2 separate regions of the Homo sapiens genome follow, and region 1 is linked to region 2. Evidence: promoter capture Hi-C in 16 types of primary human blood cells and fetal thymus (Javierre and others, 2016). All regions are on one chromosome and are shown on one strand. The core of a region is centred on a gene start or on the middle of the fragment in contact, and the rest is flanking DNA. Distances in the headings are between cores, read along the strand shown. Region 1 overlaps ALAS1 (5'-aminolevulinate synthase 1). Region 2 holds the start of POC1A (POC1 centriolar protein A).

Region 1 (5,713 bases), core at 1,504-4,003, 54 kb after region 2:
AGAAATATTTCTGGAACTAGTAAATTCCATGTGGACTTAGAGCGGGAGCTGGCAGACCTCCATGGGAAAGATGCCGCACTCTTGTTTTCCTCGTGCTTTGTGGCCAATGACTCAACCCTCTTCACCCTGGCTAAGATGATGCCAGGTAAGGAAGCCTGGCATGAGTGCCTTCGAGTTTTTTGGGTTTCTTAGTAATAACAAGAATATTGGCAACAAAGAAGCCTTACCAGAACCTCTCAATTGAAAATCATAATCCTATCTGGGCATTTGTTCTGGGGTCAAGCATGAAATGCTGACTGTACATTATGGGTTCCAGGAGAACGTGATACCAGTGAAAATTCAAACTTGAAACGTCTCATCCTTGAGCTAATTGCCTCAAATATGTTTTGTATTCTAAGATGATCCTTTGGAGAAGTCTCTTAATCATTTAGTTAGCTCTTGATTGAGTTTGGAGTGAGGCAGTCAGATTTAAGAGCAGATTAATGGCCTGCCACAAGGTTATTCTACACCTTTGGGCCTTCTCACAAGGGAAGCACTAACTAGTTATTTTGCCAGGAAGAAACTGGCACACAGTGTCTTTTTCCTACTAGGCATTTTCAAAGCATCATTTCCAAGGAAAAGTCTGTTGTCTTTCTCTAGGAAATAATTTGTCTTCGATGCACATGGCAATAAATAGCATTTTTGTTGTCTTAGGCTGTGAGATTTACTCTGATTCTGGGAACCATGCCTCCATGATCCAAGGGATTCGAAACAGCCGAGTGCCAAAGTACATCTTCCGCCACAATGATGTCAGCCACCTCAGAGAACTGCTGCAAAGATCTGACCCCTCAGTCCCCAAGATTGTGGCATTTGAAACTGTCCATTCAATGGATGGTAAGTGTGGATAGAGGTTCCTCTGAAACCTAAGATGAAAAACTATGCCTGAACTCTTTAAAAGTATGGTGTTTTGTTGTGTTTTTTAATTTTTTTTTTTTGTGACCGATCCTCGCTCTGTTGCCCAGGCAGGAGTGCAGTGGTGCGATCTCGACTCACTGCAAGCTCCGCCTCCCGGGTTCACGTCATTCTCCTGCCTCAGCCTCCCGAGTAGCTGGGACTACAGACACCTGCCACCACGCCTGGCTAATTTTTTTTTTTTTTTTTTTTGAGACGGAGTCTCCCTCTGTCACCCAGGCTGGAGTGCAGTGGCGTGATCTCGGCTCACTGCAAGCTCCACTTCCTGGGTTCACGCCATTCTCCTGCCTCAGCCTCCTGAGTAGCTGGGACTACAGGCGCCTGCCACCACGCCCAGCTAATTTTTTGTATTTTTAGTAGAGACAGGGTTTCACCATGTTAGCTAGGATGGTCTCGATCTACTGACCTTGTGATCTGCCCGCCTCAGCCTCCCAAAGAGCTGGAATTACAGGTGTGAGCCACCGCACCTGGCCTAACTTTTTGTATTTTTAGTAGACGGGGTTTCACTGTGTTAGTCAGGATGGTCTCAATCTCCTGACCTTGTGATCCGCCCACCTTGGCGTCCCAAAGTGCTGGGATTACAGGCGTGAGCCACCGCGCCTGGCCTGTTGTGTTTTTTAATTTTCTTTTCCTTTCTGCCAGGATTTTTTTTTTTCTTCTTCCAACTTTTAGGTTCAGTGGGTACATGTGCGGGTTTATTATATGGGTAAATTATGTGTCACAGGGTGTTGGTGTACCAATTATTTCATCACCTAGGTAGTAAGCATAGTACCCAATGGTAGTTTTTGATCTCACCCTCCTCCCACCCTCCACCCTCAAGTCGGTCCCTGGTGTCTGTTGTTCCCTTCTTTGTGTCCATGTGTTCTCAGTGTTTAGCTCCCACTTATAAGTGAGAGCGATATTTGGTTTTTCCGTTCCTGTATTAATTCACTTAGGATGGCCTCTAGCTCCATCCGTATTGCTGTAAAGGACATGGTCTCATTCTTTTTTTATTGCTGTGTAGTATTGCATTCTGCCAAGATTTGTAATTGGTGGACTTTTTTCTAATAGATTTGGGTGAAAGTGGATTTTCTATTCTGGCTTTTACTAGGCTCTGGGACCCCAGGTAACCTAGAAATTAGAGGAAGTTCATTTTCTTTCCAATATTGAAAATGATACCTTAGAATAGAAGTTTACGTTGTTCTGACTCTAACCAAAACAGAAATTTCTGAAGCGGCAAAAGCTCTTCAGAGCAGTCTCTGGTCTTTCCTCAGGGGCGGTGTGCCCACTGGAAGAGCTGTGTGATGTGGCCCATGAGTTTGGAGCAATCACCTTCGTGGATGAGGTCCACGCAGTGGGGCTTTATGGGGCTCGAGGCGGAGGGATTGGGGATCGGGATGGAGTCATGCCAAAAATGGACATCATTTCTGGAACACTTGGTATGTATACATTGTATTACATACACTAAAATTCCATTATCCTAACAAGGCCAAGGACTAACTAGTCTAACTGGGATCAGGTGAGGAGACAGCCTGACAGCATATGAAGCCTGGGCCACTCTTTCTTTTGGCCCAGCTTAGTGGAATCCCTTGGGTCATGGAGGCATGGCTCTTAGAATCAAAGTAAATCCCACAGCCTAACACACTGATAGACCATTTATTGCTATCTGAGCTCATTTCAGACATAGTTGTGGGTCTAGCCCCATGCCATGGCAAGAGCCTGTACTCTCTGTGCCTCAGGCTGTTCTTAATTAAAAAGAAAAAGGAATTCTAGTACTTTTCTCCTGGAGCACTTGTTAGGTTCAGGTGTTGTGAAGTGCTGAACTCCGTGCCTGCCACGTGGGAACATTCTAATTCATCCTGGTTTTCCTCTGCTCTTCCTCATACAGAGGCTATGTCTCGTGGTAGATGGGAGCTAGACTTTGGAGCCCTGCCACCTCACTAGTTGTGTGACCTTGAGTTGGTAGTTAACCTTTCTATACCTCAGTTTCATCATCAATATAATGGAGAAAACAATAGGACCTAAATCAAAATATATGTGGAGAAGGTAAATAAGTTGTATGCAAACAGTTATTATAAACATTCCCTCTGAGAACCTATGAGAACCCTAAAGAGACGAAAATTACATAAATTTGAAGAATTTTTGTAATTTTGAAGAATTTTTTTAAGCCTTCAGAAGTGGGTAAGGCAGTTGGAAACCCATCTAGCAGTTAGCTAAAATGCCAGTTTATAGCCTATGCTTGGTAAAGGAAGGGCAGGCTTTTTAAAAAGCGTCCTTCAGCACTGTCAAGGGGTATGAGAACCTAGTGCAGACCCAGAAAGCCTGGGAGTTCTAAGGGTGGAACCACTACCAGGAGAAAAACACCTGATCATGTGTCTTAATTCAAGAAGCTCTTTTCTTTTTTTTCTTTTTTTTCCGAGATGGAGTGTCACTCTGTTGCCCAGGCTGGAGTGCAGTGGCGCGATCTCAGCTCACTGCAAGCTCCACCTCCCAGGTTCATGCCATTCTACTGCCTCAGCCTCCCAAGTAGCTGGGACTACAGGCACCCGCCACCATGCCTGGCTAATTTTTTGTATTTGTAGTAGAGACGGGGTTTCACCGTGTTAGCCAGAATGTTCTCAATCTCCTGACCACGTGATCTGCCCGCCTCAGCCTCCCAAAGTGCTGGGATTACAGGCGTGAGCCACCACACCCGGCCAGAAGCTCTTTTCTTTTAAGGATGTCTCCTGATGTGGGCTCTTTGAAGGTATGGTCATTGTGAGATGGAAAAGGCTGGAGAGAGAAACTTTATACCATAGGAGATTGAACCAACCCAGCTTTGCATGTGGTTTTAGCAAAAACATTAATTATAGAATGTTATGTTAAGATCTATGAAGACTCTTCTGGAGTTCTTTTTGTTTTTTGAGACAGGCTCTCACTCTGTGCCCAGGTGTGATCACAGCTCATCTGCAGCCTCCACCTCCTGGGCTCAAGTGATCCTCCCACCTCAACCTCCTGAATAACTGAGACTACAGGTGTGCGCTAGCATGCCTGGCTAATTTTTGTATTTTTAGTAGAAACGGGGTTTCACCATGTTGGCCAGGCTGGTCTCTAACTCCTGAGCTCAAGTGATTTGCCCCCCTCGGCCTCCCAAAGTTCTGGGACTATAGGTGTGAGCCACTGCACCTGGCCTCTTCTGGAGTTTTTAATCCTGAAACTTGAGATGTAGATCACACAAAAGGACTCAATGAGAATTGAAAACCAAGTCTGGCCCTAAATCAATCCTAATGCATTAATTGTCAAGAGTTTTGTTCTTAAGTAGGAAATAACACCAGTCATACCAAAACAGTTAATGCCTTAGCTGGGTAAAATTCCAGCCTCTGGGATAATGTTCCCTGTGGGAGGATGGTACAAGCACTGCAGAGCCAGTCTTGTTCCAAAGAGCACATGCAGTGCAGACATGGGGAGTGGAGCTGTGCTGGCTGTCAGAGCAGCAAGCCTGGGTGAGAAAGGGAAAGGAGAATAAGATGGTGGGAAGGGAGGCAGCAGCAGGGTATTTGGGCACACTGGGACCAGTCACTGAGGTGTCAGGTCTGATTGGAAGACCTGCATTTTGATCCTGGTTAGACACCAGCTTGGCCATATGACTTTGGGCAAGACCCTTTTGTAACTTTCCTTAGCTTTTTTACCCTTTTAAAAGTGAGTAGCCAGGCACGATAGCTCACACCTGAATCCCAGCACTTTGGGAGGCTGAGACAGGAGGATCACTTGAACCCAGGAGTTTGAGACCAGCCCTGGGCAACGAAGCATGGCCTCCTCTCTACACAAAATAAAAATTTAAAAAATCAGCCAGGCATGGTGGTGTACACCTGTCCTAGCTACTTGGGAGGCTGAGGCGGAAGGAATACTTGAGCCCAGGAGGTTGAGGCTGCAGAGAGCTATGATCATGCCACTGCACTCCAGCCTGGGTGACAGAGCAAGACCCTGTCTCTAAAAAAAAAAGGAAGATTAGATATCCTTTTATAGTCATGCATTGCTTAACGATGGGGGATGTGTTCTGAGAATTGCATCACTAGGCGATTTCATCATTGTGCAAACACCATAGAGTGTACTTACATAAACCTAGATTATATAGCCTACCGCACACCTAGGCTTTGTGGTATGGCGTGTTGCTCCTAGGCTGCAAACCTGTACAACATGTTACTGTATTGGATACTGTTGGCAACACCATGGTATTTGTGTATCTAAACATACCTAAACATAGAAAAGGTACAGTAAAAATACAGTATTATAATCTTATGGGACCACCATCATATATGTGGTCGTCATTGACTGAGACATCATTAATGTGGTGCATGACTACTCCAATCAGTCCAGGAACAAATTAAAAAGATAAGGAGAAAAGTCAGTGCTTTGAGGCTCCACAACACCTTGCTGTGTCCATTTAGAGCAATTTACAGCTGTTGCTGTAATTAATGAAGCTATCTCCTCCCAGGCAAAGCCTTTGGTTGTGTTGGAGGGTACATCGCCAGCACGAGTTCTCTGATTGACACCGTACGGTCCTATGCTGCTGGCTTCATCTTCACCACCTCTCTGCCACCCATGCTGCTGGCTGGAGCCCTGGAGTCTGTGCGGATCCTGAAGAGCGCTGAGGGACGGGTGCTTCGCCGCCAGCACCAGCGCAACGTCAAACTCATGAGACAGATGCTAATGGATGCCGGCCTCCCTGTTGTCCACTGCCCCAGCCACATCATCCCTGTGCGGGTAATGGCCTGTCTCTGATTGGACTTGCCGTGGGGTGTGC
Region 2 (5,963 bases), core at 1,486-3,985:
AAGAGAAATGAAAGAAGACTTAAAAAATGGAAAGACATTCCACATTCATGAACAGGAAGACTTACTATTGTTAAGATACAATACTACGATACTCCTCAGATTGATCTACCGATTCCACATAATTCCTATCAAAATCCCAGGTGTCTTTTTTGCAGAAACTGACAAGCTGCTCCCAAGATTCACATGAAAATGCAAGACACCCAGAAAAAAAAAAAAATCTTTAAAAACAAACAAACAAACGAACAAACAAAAAACACAGATACTATAGAAAGTAATTTGGCAGTTCCTCAAAAAGTTAAACATAGGTCAGGTGAAGTGGCTCACACCTGTAATCCCCACATTTTGGGAGGCTGAGGCAGGAGGATCACTTTAAGCCAGGGGTTCAAGACCAACCTGGGCAACACAGCAAGACCCTGACCCTACAAAAAAATTAAAGAATTAGCCACACGTAGTGGCTCATGCCTGTATTCTCAGCTACTCAGGAGGGTGAGGTGGGAGGACTGCTTGAGCACAGGAGTTCAAGGTTGCAGTGAGCTGTGATCACATCACTGCACTCCAGCCTGGGCAACAGAGCAAGACCCTGACTAAAAAAAAGTAGTTAGCCGGGCACAGTGGCTCACGCCTGTAATCCCAGCACTTTAGGAGGCCAAGGCGGGCAGATTACCTGAGGTCAAGAGTTCAAGATCAGCCTGGCCAACATGGTGAAAACCCCTCTCTACTAAAAATACAAAAATTAGCTAGGCGTGGTGGTGGGCGCCTATAGTCCCAGCTATTTGGGAGGCTAAGGCAGGAGAATCGCTTGAACCCAGGAGGAGGAGGTTGTAGTGAGCCGAGATTGCACCAGTGCACTCCAGCCTGGACGACAGAGTGAGACTCCTAATCAAAAAATAAATAAATAAAATAAATATAAATAAATAAAATAAAAAATAAAGTAGTTAAACGTGGTTAGCAAATGACCCAGCAATTCTAGGTAAATACCCCAAAGAGTTGAAAACATGGTTTACACAAAAACTTGTACACAAATGTTCAGAGCAGCATTTTCCTTAATAGCCAACAAGTGATTGAACCCAAATGATCCATCAACACATGACTGAATAAACCAAATGTAGCATATTCATACAACAGAATATTATTCAGCCATAAAACCGACTGAAGTGCTGATGCTTGCTGCAACATGGATGAACCTTGAAAACATGCTAAGTGAAAGAAGTCAAACACCAAAGGCCACATTTTGTCTGATTCCATTCATATGAAAAGTTCAGAATAGTCAAATCTATAGAGACAGAAAGTATTAATATATTAGTTTGCCAAGGGTTGGGAGAAAATGGGGAAAGAGAAGAAATGGTATGACTGTTATTGAGTATGGAGTTTCTTTTTGGGATGATGAAAATATTCTGGAATTAGTGATTACAGTTGCACAACACTGTGAATGTACTAAAAACTACTGAAATGTACACTTTAAAAGGTGAATTCTGTGGTGTATGAATAACTTAATAAAGTTAAAACACCAGAGAGAATACTCCGGAGACTCTCTCCATCCAATAGCAGCTTGTGTCTTAACACTTGAAGGGTTATAATTCAGCCATCCAAACATCTCCCCCTACTCTAAGTATCAGAAACCTCAAAGAAGCATTTTGGGTGCTCCAGGAAGCCCAAAGGCTCCTCCTGGGAAAGGATGTCCTTGGGGCACAGCAAAGCCACTGCCACCCTACAGAGCAGTAACCAGAACAAAGGCCCTATGGCCTTGTGCCCAGCTCCACCCCTAACGCACCTGTCAGAGTCTCCTTTCAACAACAGAGGGAGGAGCAGCTGGGGGAGGGTCCCCAACAGAGCCTTCTGCTCTCACCTAAGCTTCTTGAAAGAACATGCGTAAGAGAGTGTCCGCCCCTAGGCTCAGTGGGCAGAGGCAAGTTCAGGTCCACCCCTGACCAGTAGGTCCCATGGTATCTCTCAACACCGCCTCCCCTCTGTAGTTCCCTGCATGTGGGCCTCATCTCCCTCAACAGTGGTTTATACATGAGGGGACAGGAAGGGAGGTAGAGTACCAGATTAGGAGTCAAAAGGTCTGTATCCTAGCCTGGAATCTCCGTCCATGTCCTCAAGTGCCTCAGGGCATCACAGGCTACCACCCAGCCTCCCTGACTCTCCAATCAGCCAGAGGGCCTTGCCCGTTCAAAGGAATCTCTCGAAATGAGGACTTCTGGAGGAATGTGAACTCAGAGAGGGCGGCTCCGCCCCGCTCACACTGCAGGCCCGGGCATCCCAGCGTCCTGCTGTACCTACCTGCTGGAGCAGGGTGTACCCTCAACAAGACCCCACGCAGCCACCCACTGCTAAGGACGTGGAGAATGGCTAGAGAGGCCCGATACCGGCCCCAGGTCACACATGAGTCGGGACTTGGTCGTGTGTCCCTCGCTAGGATGCAAACTATGGAGGCAGAGGCCTGTTTGTTCGCTCCAGAAACCCAGCGCAGGGCCTGGCACGCAGGAGGCGCTCAGAAAGTGCCCGACCCAGCGCCCCCTGCGCAGACAGTAAACTGGACCTGAAGAGGACCACCCTGGAACCTGGCGCCCCGCCCGCCCCTCGCAGCCATCGCTCTGGCCATTAGGCGCCCAGTGTCCCAGCGGGGAGACTGAGGCCTGGGGAGTTGCTCTCGGCTGGGCTTACCGCGCAGGGCGCAGCCATGGCGGGGCTGGCGGCGCCGAAGGCAGCTGCGGTGGCCGTTGCGGCCCGTTCAGTTTCCGCGCCCCCAACGGCCACCAATAGCAACGCGGGCCGCGTCGGCACGCCCCGCCCACCGCAATTAAAGGAGAAGCGCCTCAGCTTTTTGCCCGACGACTGGAAGCAGAGCTGTATGACCGGCGGCCGGCGCCACGGTCTCCGTGCCCAGTTCCCCAAGCCCAGACAACCCACAGACAGCGCAGCCAAAAGCCTCTGTCCGCCGCCACTCGTTCCGCCTGAGAAATTAAAAGACCCAGGATGAAGGGTTCACCCCACCAGCCCGTCGTCCGGCTACTCTAACGGCGAGCGCAGCCTCCTGGGAAATGCAGTTCCAAGCCGCCCACGCCCCTATGTCTGGAGGAAGGTGGAGCTACACTTCCCAACATGAGATTGCACCATTGCATTCCAGCCTGGGCAACAAGAGGGCGGGCCGGGTTTTACCACCCGAAGCGACGGCCTTAAGGATCCCGGAAGCGGAGGACACGTGGGTTGCTGTAACCAGATTGCGTTAAAGCACCCGCGCGCGCCGGCGCAGCCAGATTTTCCCCGCAGGAACCTATTGAGAGCTGAGTATTCGCCCCTCGGGAACTCTCAGTGGTTCGCCGTCCGAACGTTCTTAAGACAAGTGTCGATTTAAAATAACATGAGTTACTCGGAATCACAATCATGGAGTGGAGAGATCAAGGTTCGATTCTCAGTTCTCGCCCTGATTGGCTGTGTGATCTCAGGAAAAACGCCTCTGCTCTGTGCCCCGGTTTCCCCATTTGTAACACGAGGGAGTGTGGTGCAGCCCGGCCCTGTCAGGATCCTTAAGGCCTCAGAAGCTGTTAGAAACCCAGTCTTTAAAAGAAGGAGAGGCCGGGCTCAGTGGCTCACGCCTGTAATCTCAGCACTTTGCCACTTTGGGAGGCCGAGGTGGGTGGATCACCTGAGGTCAGGAGTATGAGACCAGCCTGGCCAACATGGTGAAACCCCATGTCTACTAAAAATACAAAAATTAGCCGGGCGTGGTGGCACGCGCCTGTAAACCCAGCTACTCGGGAGGCTGAGGGAGGAGAATTGTTCGAACTCCGGAGGCAGAGATTGCAGTGAGCCTAGATGTTGCCGCTGCACTCCAGCCTGGGCAACAGAGGGAGACTCCGTCTCAAAAAATATATATATATATAAAATAAAATTTGAAGGCCACCAGCAACCATCTGAATAGACTCCCTGCTTGGCCAGGGCACTCAAATTTAACCTGAAAGAGTGGTTCAGGCCATGATGGGAAGTGGGGGTTGGACATGCCTCATTATACCCTCCAGCATTAACATCAACAAAAACCTTAAGTCTGATAAGAAACATTTACGATCTATTTTCTCTGAAACCTGCTACCTGGAGGCTTCATCTGCATGGTAAAACCTTGGTCTCCATAACCCCTTATCTTAACCGAGATATCCCTTTCTACTGATAATAATTATTTCAACCAATTGCCAATCAGAATATGTTTAAATCTACCAATGACCTGGAAGTTTCCCACTTCGAGTTGTCTTGTCCTTCCAGATCAAACCAATGTAAATCTTACATGTATTGATTGATGTATTTTGTCTCCCTAAAATGTATAAAACCATGCTGTGCCCAGGCCACTTGGGCACATGTTGTCAGGACCTCCTGAGGCTGTGTCATGGGTGTGTCCTTAACCTTAGCAAAATAAATTTTCTAAGTTGACTGAGACCTGTCTCAGGTATTTCGGGTTGACAGTTTGGCAACCACGAAAGGATTCTGAGTGGAGGTGCCCCTGACCTTTGACAGATCTCCTATCGGTGCTTGGTACCAGCTTGAGCTATCTTTATGGCTCAAATCTACAGGACAATTTGCTAAGGCCTGGGAGCCCCCCTCCACAAAATTCCTGATCTTCCCAAATTTGGTTAACATCTAAAGTTTATTTTACTGTACAACTCCTTTTTCTGGAGTTTTACTTGTTTCCAACAAGGAAGGCAGGTTTTCCTGCTTCCCTGACGATGGAAGGCAGGTAACTCCTTTCTGGAGTTTGAGCTCGCTTCCAACAGAGAAGGAAAGTTTGAGTTTTCCCTACTTCTGGGATGGTAGAGAGCAGTCTTTAGCCTAAGACCTGTTCTTAGGTAAGTAGCCGAATTGGGGATTTTCTTGGCTGAAGTTAAGGTTAACAACCAGCTGGTCTTAATTTTCCTTACCATTAGAGTGCTCAGTAATCATATAAATTGTACGATCAAGCCCGGCATGGTGGCTCACGCCTGTAATCCCAGCACTTTGGGAAGCCAAGGCGGGTGGATCACGAGGTCAGGACATCGCAGACCATCCTGGCTAACACGGTGAAACCCCGTCTCTACTAAAAATACAAAAAATTACAGGGCGTGGTGGCTGGCGCCTGTAGTCCCAGCTACTCGGGAGGCTGAGGCAGGAGAATGGCATGAACCCGGGAGGCGGAGCTTGCAGTGAGCCTAGATCAAGCCCCTGCACTCCAGCCTGGGCGACAGGGCGAGACTCCGTCTCAAAAAAAAATAAAATAAATAAAATAAATAAACAAATTGTGCGATCACTTTTTTTTTTTTTGCTTAACTGTTTTTTGTTGTTGTTTGTTTCTGTTTTTGTTGTTTCATTCTTTTTCCCATTGAGGTTGATGAATTATATCTGACTTGATCAAATCTGAAGGAAAGTTCCAAAGTTTGGGGAACAAGGCCTCTGAATTGGCTAAATTCCCACAACAGAAAAAGAAAAAAGCCTGGGCAAGGTGGCTCACGCCTGTAATTCCAACACTTTGGGAGGCCGAGTTGGGTGGATCACCTGAGGTCAGAAGTTCGAGACCAGCCTGGCCAACATGGTGAAACCCCATCTCTACTAAAAATACAAAATTAGCTGGGCATGGTGGTGGGCATCTGTAATCCCAGCTACTCAGGAGGCTGAGGCAGGAGAATCACTCAGAACCCGGGAGGCAGAGGTTGCAGTGAGCCGAGATCGCACTCCAGCCTGGGCGACGCAGCGAGATTCCGTCTCAAAAAAAAAAAAGAGAGAGAAAAACAGCCAGCAAAAAGAAAAAAATAAGGAGAGATTTTTTATTTTGATTACCTAAGGGGCTTTATTTACATAACAAGGCCACCTTTTTGCTAACCAAGCCAAACTGAAAGAGGAATGCTGTTGCCCCAAACTGCAGTTCCATAGCTAAGGTTCTGCCCACTTTTTTTCACCAGGACAGCCTGGGTTTGGTTCCTAAATCAAGCCCTTTTTGG

What was found. Contacts are between HindIII fragments. The CHiCAGO score rates a contact against its expected background, and 5 or more counts as called.
Region 1: a fragment that was not itself captured here is called in contact with the fragment with the promoter of POC1A in region 2 in 1 of 17 cell types (M2 macrophages); the score reaches 5.2 in M2 macrophages.

Annotation. Positions count from the first base shown.
Region 1 is chr3:52,205,879-52,211,591 of GRCh38, forward strand. ALAS1 (5'-aminolevulinate synthase 1) reads left to right here. Exons shown (of 12, transcript NM_000688.6): 7 at 1-145; 8 at 694-873; 9 at 2,205-2,369; 10 at 5,405-5,673. Among named protein-coding and RNA genes, the nearest start is that of ALAS1, 11 kb to the left of the region's middle. RefSeq lists an enhancer at 4,855-5,149. The HindIII fragment of the contact is 7,002 bases long and covers 1-5,713 here.
Region 2 is chr3:52,151,688-52,157,650 of GRCh38, forward strand. POC1A (POC1 centriolar protein A) reads right to left here and starts at 2,736. Exons shown (of 11, transcript NM_015426.5): 1 at 2,668-2,736. The coding sequence starts at 2,685. RefSeq lists enhancers at 2,129-3,106, 3,107-4,083. The HindIII fragment of the contact is 9,340 bases long and covers 1,850-5,963 here.